3 separate regions of the Homo sapiens genome follow, and all the other regions are linked to region 2. Evidence: promoter capture Hi-C in 16 types of primary human blood cells and fetal thymus (Javierre and others, 2016). All regions are on one chromosome and are shown on one strand. Each heading gives the region's core, a stretch centred on a gene start or on the middle of the fragment in contact. The rest is flanking DNA. Distances are from core to core; before and after follow the strand shown.

Region 1 (2,861 bases), core at 355-2,854, 330 kb after region 2:
AGCCTTGCTTCTGGTATAACAAAGTTAAACTTATACTCAAGATGGATGCCGAGGCAACATAAAATTATAAGAATTCACTACATGCTTCCAATGCCCATACCCAAAAGGACACACTGCTCAGGCCTCAGGGACATTCTCTCAATCACACATCTCATTCTAGCCCAATTTCATCTTCATTCCCAAAAAGGAGAAACTGTTCAAACATTCTTGATATCCAATACCTTTCTGCTATAAGCTAAGCAGAGAAATGTCAAACATCCTAGAATCTCTAGGAATGAAAACCATGGAGGACTCACCATGTGATTAATGTTGATATATGATTTGATTACAAGAGGCTTCCCAAAATAGATCAAATTATTGCCTAGTTAAAATAATTCCCCACTGGCTACAAACATACTTGCCAGGCACAGTGGATCATGCCTGTAATCCCTGCACTTTGGGAGGCCAAGGAGGGCAGATCACCTGAGGTTGGGAGTTTGAGACCAGCCTGGCCCACATGGTGAAACCCTGTCTCTACAAAAACACAAAAATTAGCGGTGTGTGGTGGCACGTGCCTGTAATCCCAGCTACTTGGGAGGCTGAGGCAGGAGAATCGCTTGAACCCTGGAGGTGGAGGTTGCAGTGAGCCAACATCGTGCCACTGCACTCCCGTCTGGGCGATAGAGCGAGACTCAGCCTCAAAAAATATATATATATTTTCTTACTGCTCCTTGCAGAGCAGGGCTAACCCATAGACAGCGTTCCCAGAGTAGCCCAAAGATAAATTTAGAATGAGTGATATTGCTACGGGATCTTCTGGAAACCTCACAGAGATGAGCACTGAAGCCAGTGAGAATCAAAATGTCAACGCTGTGTTGTTGAGTTGTAAGTGCAATGAGAACTTTGTTTTCCTTCATAGCTCTCCCCTCAAGAAAGCACAATGCAGCAAACAGCGACATTCCTGATCCAATCTATAGGGTCAGTAGTGATGTTGTCTCCATCATTCCTAATTCTAATGATCTGTGTCAGTCTAGCTAAAGGATTGTAAATTTCACAAATCTCTGCACAAACCCAACTTTTGGTTTCATGGATTTTTCTCTGTATTTTGTCTGGTTTTTTATGTCATCAATTTTTGCTCCAATCCCTATTGTTTACTTCTTTCTGCTTGCTTTGGATTTCATCTTCTAGTTTAGTCTTTTTCTTGTTTCTTAAGGTGGAAGCTTATGTCATTTATTTATCTTCCCTTTTTTTCTGATACAGTTATTTAAAACTATAAATATCCCTCTAAGCATGTCTTTAGTTGTATCAAATTCTATGCAAGATGTTTTCTGGATTCCTTTTATTTTTTAGACAGGGTCTCACTTTGTCGCCCAGGCTGGTATGCAGTGGTGCAATCTTGGTTCAATGCAGCTTCTACCTGCTGGGCTCAGGTGATTCCCCTACCTCAGCCTCCTGAGTAGCTGGGACTACAGGCATGCACCACCATGCTCAACTCATTTTTTGTATTTTTTTGTAGAGATGGGGTTTTGCCATGTTGCCCAGGTTGGTCTTGAACTCCTGGCCTCAAGTGATGTGCCCACCTACGCCTCCCAAAGTGCTGGAATTACAGGTGTAAGCAACCACCCCCGGCCTTTCTAGTTTAATATATATATTTTTGACCAATGGGCTCTGTAAAGTGTGTTAATTTCCAAATATCTTGTGACCTCCAAATTTATTTCTGTGTTGATTTCTAATTCCTCTATGGTCACACAACATACTCTACATGGTTTCAATCTTAAATTTATTGAGTACAGTTTTATAGCCTAACATATACTCTATCCTGGAGAATGTTCCAGGTATGCTTGAAAATAATTTGTATTTCTGTTGTTGGGTGAAGTTTTCTCTGTCTGTCTGTCTGTCTGTCTAACTGTCTATCTATCTATCTCAGGTCAAATTGGTTGACAACATTGCTGAAGTATGTTGTAACCTCAATGATGCTCTATCTAATTGACTTATCACTGATTAAGAAGAGGGTATGAACAAAAGCTTTTATTGTTGAATTGCCTATTGATCCCCTCAATCATGTTAAATTTCAGTGTATGTAGTTTTGGGCACTGTTGTTAGTGCTGATATGATTGTAATTGTTACATATTCCATATTAACCCTTCTATCATTAAATACTATCCTTCTTCCTCTCTAGCAATACTTTATCTTAAAGTCTCTTTTTTCTGATGTCAGAATAGCCACTTCTGCTCTCTTCTGGATTCGCTGGATATAGCTTTTTCCATCTTTTTACTTTCCAACTATTTGTATCTTTTGTTCTAAAGTGTCTCTTCTGTAGACAGCGTATAGTTGCTCATGTTTAAAAAACAACGGAATTTCCTAATCTCTTAAAAATTTAATATAATTGTCATATGGCTGGGTTTATGTCTGTCATTTTCCTATCTGTTTTCTATATGTCTTATTGGTTCCTCTGTTCATCTTTAACTGCCTTCTTTTGTGTTAAACAGATCTTTTCGGTTATTCTATTTTAATTCTTTGGTTGTTCTTTTAATATTTTTTGAATTGTTTTCTTACTGGTGGTCCTAGTGTTTATAAAATACAACTTAAATGATCACAGCCTCCCTCAGATTAACAATATATGTGTAACATGGCCTTTTATATGACTTGAAATCAATTTGAGAGAAGCAATTCTATTGCTCAGTCCAGATTTCCAAAAGATACTGAAGCCATCATCAATCCAGGCATGTTTATAAAAGGGACTGTGAGCCTGAGATAGGAGACAGACACTACACACTAACAATTCTGTCACACTTGGACACAATGACACCATCACCACACTAAGTCATAGAGACCAGGATACAGGAACGATGATCCAGCCACATGGCTGACTACCATTATCA
Region 2 (2,700 bases), core at 172-2,671:
AGTTTCCAAATGTGGATGTGTAATGAGAGGAAATGAAAAGTGAGTAAAGAGCTGAGTTAAAACATCTTAAAATCGAATATGGCTTAATACTATCATTATCATCAGTTGTCCTGGAATAACTTAAATTCTTCTAGCTTATTGTTGGTTTTTCAATGGTTGGTTATAGTTGTGAGGCGGATACACACACACACCCACACACTTGGCTATACAAAAAAGATGTTCCGAGACTGACAGTTAAAAATTACACTGCTGGCCGAGCACTGTGGCTCATGCCTGTAGTCCCAAAACTTTGGGAGGCCGAGGTGGGAGGATCACTTGAGGCCAGGAGCTCGAGACCAGCCTGGGCCTAACATAGCAAGACACCATTTCTAAGTTTAAAAATAAAAATAAATTTAAAAAAGATACACTGCTATGTACGACTGTTGATATAAAAAATCTGAATACTAGACATGGGTACTCATCTAGTACTTCAAGGGCTTATCAACAAAGTTGCAAGTTGTAACACTATGAATTGTTAGTGATACTCTTTTGGCTTTGCTAGCAAGTGTTGTAAAGCTATACACACACACACACACACACACACACATACACACACACACCTTTTAAAATGGTGACCCTGGTACCAAATATGACTTTAAATGGATTTAATTTTAATGGCTTTAACTACGTTCAGCTGTCATATGGATCAAAATTAGCCTCTATCCAGCTGGGGTCAACCAGGGAGCCACTTTTCTTAACCGACGACCTACTGAACGTCAACAACTGCAGGAGACGGGACTTTACCTTCGTCTCTGGTAAACTAGTTGACACATCCTGTGTTGGCAAGAGGCCTAAGTAGATGACCTTGGTCCTCTAAAATCTGGCCTGCACTCTCGGGGCACCCCTGCAACATCTACAAAGGCAGCTCCAGATAGAAAAGGGTTGGGGTCGAAAAGCCAATAACGGCAGGCACCTGCCCCGCCTCGGGGCTGGGGGGCTATTCCAGCGGCTTCAGCTAACTTTCAGAGCCATTCGTTTCCCAACAAAGTCTGAGGCGTTCCTCTGCTGGGTACACCAAGGGGCTCTGCAACCCTCCTGGGGGGGGGGGTGCCCAGAGGGCTTCCGGAAGTCCCAGGTTTATTCTTTCGGGTCACAGACAGCAGAAACTAAAAAGAGGGATTACCCTTTCTGTCCAGTCGCAAGATGGCGACCGAGCCTGGTGGGACTCCGAGGGGCCGCAGGCCACCTCCTCTTCCCAATGGCCCGTGCGCCGGCGGCGACGGCAAGCGGGAGGGAGGCGGGGCCGGCGAAGGAAGGAGGGGCGGAGCGCGGCGCCCTCCCGCGCGTCTTGGCCCCGCCCCACGTCCCCGCGTCCCGGCCTGGAGCCCTCGCCCGGCCGGGCGGCGCGCGCTGCCTGCCGGGATACTCGGCCCGCCCAGCCAGTCCTCCCGTCTTGCGCCGCGGCCGCGAGATCCGTGTGTCTCCCAAGATGGTGGCGCTGGGCTCGGGGTGACTACAGGAGACGACGGGGCCTTTTCCCTTCGCCAGGACCCGACACACCAGGCTTCGCTCGCTCGCGCACCCCTCCGCCGCGTAGCCATCCGCCAGCGCGGGCGCCCGCCATCCGCCGCCTACTTACGCTTCACCTCTGCCGACCCGGCGCGCTCGGCTGCGGGCGGCGGCGCCTCCTTCGGCTCCTCCTCGGAATAGCTCGCGGCCTGTAGCCCCTGGCAGGAGGGCCCCTCAGCCCCCCGGTGTGGACAGGCAGCGGCGGCTGGCGACGAACGCCGGGATTTCGGCGGCCCCGGCGCTCCCTTTCCCGGCCTCGTTTTCCGGATAAGGAAGCGCGGGTCCCGCATGAGCCCCGGCGGTGGCGGCAGCGAAAGAGAACGAGGCGGTGGCGGGCGGAGGCGGCGGGCGAGGGCGACTACGACCAGTGAGGCGGCCGCCGCAGCCCAGGCGCGGGGGCGACGACAGGTCAGTGTTGCCGCGGCCTGCGCCAGGCGGCGCTGGCTCCCCTCCGTCACTCGGCCGGCCTTCGGGGCCCGCTGTGGCGAGGTCGACACCCCCCTTCCCCGCCCCCCGCCGCCGAGGCGAGTGTTTGGGGGCGCGTGGTCCGAAGGGGCTGGTGCCAGAAGTAGGCCCCTGGTGGCCGCGGCTGCTGCAGCCGTAACTGTCAGTCCTGGCTGAGCGACGGCGGGAGGGTTTTGTCGCCCGAGGGGACGCGAGCGGGCCCGGGGCGGGGCGGGACGTGCGAGGCGTCGAGATTTGGGCCTCCTAGGAGCCAGGCTCTTCGAGCCAGCCGGGGCCCCAGACAGGGAAGGGCAGGCCCTTTCCTTCAAAGGGGAGCCCTTTCTCGGCGTTTTCAAGGTTTTTGGCTCTCTTGGGGAAGACATATTTAGCCGTGTGCTTGGTGGGTTGGGGTTTTGGGGGTGGATTGATGGGAAGGGAGGGCGGATGAAGTGGTATGTCAAGCCCAAGGGTTGTGCGCACAGGTTACTCTGTGTTACCGGCCACCAGGATTTCTGAAGTTGAACGTGAGTTATTGGCTTTGCCAGAGACTGCTGTGTTATATGCAGACCTGTATGCAAGCAGTTGGCCTTTTTTCCCCCCCCTTTTCAGTGTAGAAAATGAAAAGGATGCTTTCCTCATCTTGGTGGTAAAGGCTTTTGTTGGTAAAGGTAGAATTGAATGTACCAAATGCCTTAGTCCGTAAAATTT
Region 3 (2,742 bases), core at 199-2,698, 320 kb before region 2:
TTTTATATATGTATGCTTGTATGTATGTATGTATGTTTCAGTCACCAGGCCGGAGTGCAGTGGCACGATCATAGCTCACTGCAGCCTCAAGCTCCTGTGTTCAAGCCATCCTCCTGCCTCAGTCTCCCAAAGTGCTGACATTACATTCATGAGCCACCGTGCCCAGCTCCATGTAATTAATTCCTGCTGTGAACTTGCTTAGCACAAGCCCATCAGTTTTGTGCTATTATAGTTTTGGAAATTCAGTCCAATGCTATGAACTCAAAATTATTAGAAACTATATACTTGTCAGAGTTTTTTTCATTCTTTCCATTCTTTCCATGAACTGCCCTGAAGACATAACACTTGAAGATTGTAAGTGCTTGCAAGTAACTTTCAGAAAGGCATTGGAATAAAGCAATTGCTATGAACACCAAGGCTTAAAATGGCTATGGCAATGCAGTTGACAAGGAAATTTGGTTATTCGTGAACCATAATTATGACTGATAGCATTTATATGAAGACATAGGTTTCTAGGAACTTTATACAATTTTGGAACATCTATTAATAACACATCCATATAACTGTCACTCGAAGGCTAAACATCATTCCATGTTTTGACAGTGCTTCCCATATAATTTAAAATATTCGATAAGCCCATGTTGGCTTAATCTCTTTGTTTTACAGTTCCTTTTAGAAGTTCCAGGGCTTTCTGGAATGTCCTAAAGTTAATTTCGGTCAAAAGTTTTTTGAAAAGTTTGTCAAATATCCAAGGTTTAAATTACATAGCTACTCAGGGAGGCTGAGGCAGGAGAATTGCTTGAACCCAGGAGTTGGAGGTTGCAGTGAGCCGAGATCGCGCCACTGCACTCCAGCCTGGCGACGGAGTGAGACTTCATCTCAAAGAAAAAAAAAAAAATTACATGATCAGATAGGAACACAGATCACTGTGAAATAAAACCAAAGTGACAGAAGATTTCAAAGATACAAAGCACAAGAAATTATCTTGATTAAACATAGAATCAGTTTCCTAGGCCAGCTACCTAAAAGGTAAAGAAAAACTTTTCACTATTTTTTTTTTTTTTTGAGACAGGGTCTCCACCCAGGCTGGAGTACAGTAGTGTGATCTCAGCTCACTGCCACCTCCACCTCCCAGGCTCAAGCGATTCTCCACCTTAGCCTCCTGAATAGGTGGGACTACAGGCATGTGCCACCATGCTCGACTAATTTTCTTAAAAACTTTGTGTAGACATAGGAACTCACCATATTGCCCAGGCTGATCTCGAACTCTTGGTCTCAAGCAATCCGCCCACCTTGGCCTCCAGAAGTGCTGGGATTACAGGCCTGAGCCACCACACCTGGCCCACAGTTTTCTATTAAGGGCAGAGCAATGCTCCAAGAAAACCTTGTTCTAACACAGAGGCTCAAACTCCTCCCTCCCATCAGTGTACTTTTCATACTAATGCTCAGTTTTTTAAAAACTTAAATTTTCTAATTTTAGTCAATCTGATCACACATAAAATTATTTTCATGAGATTAATCTTGCACAAACCTACATCTTGCTTAAACCTTCCATTTTGTCCTATGCCTTCTACCTGAGGATAAAAATTTACTTGCCTTTTCCCTTTATCATTTTGTTATATATATTGTTATATATAAAGTTTTGGTGCCACAAAAGAAATAGCACTCGAATATAAAATGTTCCTTTTAATTCTCAGCAAGGCAAGTTACTTCTATATAGAAGGGTGCGCCCTTACAGATGGAACAATGGCGAGTGCACATTTGGACAAAGGAGGGGAAGGGGTTCTTATCCCTGACGCACGTGGCCCCTGGTGCTGTGTCGGTCCCCCATTGGCTAGGGTTAGATCGCACAGGCTAAACTACTTCCAATGGGCTAATTTAAAGAGACTGACAGGGTAAGTGCTTTGGCGGGAGTCAGGGGAGAGCAGATAGCAGGTGATCAGAATGAGTTAGGGTGGAGCAGGTGATCAGAATGAGTAAGGGTGGAGCAGGTGGTCGGAATGAGGGTGGAGCAGGTGATCGGAATGAGTTAGGGTGGAGCAGGTGGTCGGAATGAGTTAGGGTGGAGCAGGTGGTCGGAATGAGTTAGGGTGGAGCAGGTGATCGGAATGAGTTAGGGTGGAGCAGGTGGTCGGAATGAGGGTGGAGCAGGTGATCGGAATGAGTTAGGGTGGAGCAGGTGGTCGGAATGAGTTAGGGTGGAGCAGGTGGTCGGAATGAGTTAGGGTGGAGCAGGTGGTCGGAATGAGTTAGGGTGGAGCAGGTGATCGGAATGAGTTAGGGTGGAGCAGGTGGTCGGAATGAGTTAGGGTGGAGCAGGTGGTCGGAATGAGTTAGGGTGGAGCAGGTGATAGGAATGAGTTAGGGTGGAGCAGGTGGTCGGAATGAGTTAGGGTGGAGCAGGTGATAGGAATGAGTTAGGGTGGAGCAGGTGATCGGAATGAGTTAGGGTGGAGCAGGTGGTCGGAATGAGTTAGGGTGGAGCAGGTGATTGGAATGAGTTAGGGTGGATCAGGTGGTCGGAATGAGTTAGGGTGGAGCAGGTGGTCGGAATGAGTTAGGGTGGAGCAGGTGGTCGGAATGAGTTAGGGTGGAGCAGGTGGTCGGAATGAGTTAGGGTGGAGCAGGTGGTCGGAATGAGTTAGGGTGGAGCAGGTGGTCGGAATGAGTTAGGGTGGAGCAGGTGGTCGGAATGAGTTAGGGTGGAGCAGGTGATAGGAATGAGTTAGGGTGGAGCAGGTG

The links. The method cuts DNA at HindIII sites, captures the fragments that hold promoters and counts their contacts. A CHiCAGO score of 5 or more calls a contact.
Region 1: a fragment that was not itself captured here is called in contact with the fragment with the promoter of UBE3A in region 2 in 2 of 17 cell types (megakaryocytes and endothelial precursors); the score reaches 7.8 in megakaryocytes.
Region 3: a fragment that was not itself captured here is called in contact with the fragment with the promoter of UBE3A in region 2 in 1 of 17 cell types (monocytes); the score reaches 5.2 in monocytes.

What each region holds. Positions count from the first base shown.
Region 1 is chr15:25,112,388-25,115,248 of GRCh38, reverse strand. The region is part of intron 58 of SNHG14 (small nucleolar RNA host gene 14); the gene reads right to left. Among named protein-coding and RNA genes, the nearest start is that of IPW, 2.7 kb to the left of the region's middle. The HindIII fragment of the contact is 805 bases long and covers 1,202-2,006 here.
Region 2 is chr15:25,437,745-25,440,444 of GRCh38, reverse strand. UBE3A (ubiquitin protein ligase E3A) reads left to right here and starts at 1,421. Exons shown (of 13, transcript NM_130839.5): 1 at 1,421-1,956. RefSeq lists enhancers at 414-1,359, 1,360-2,305 and silencers at 1,157-1,496, 1,857-2,276. The HindIII fragment of the contact is 4,364 bases long and covers 1-2,700 here.
Region 3 is chr15:25,758,125-25,760,866 of GRCh38, reverse strand. The region is part of intron 2 of ATP10A (ATPase phospholipid transporting 10A (putative)); the gene reads left to right. Among named protein-coding and RNA genes, the nearest start is that of MIR4715, 89 kb to the left of the region's middle. The HindIII fragment of the contact is 7,432 bases long and covers 1-2,742 here.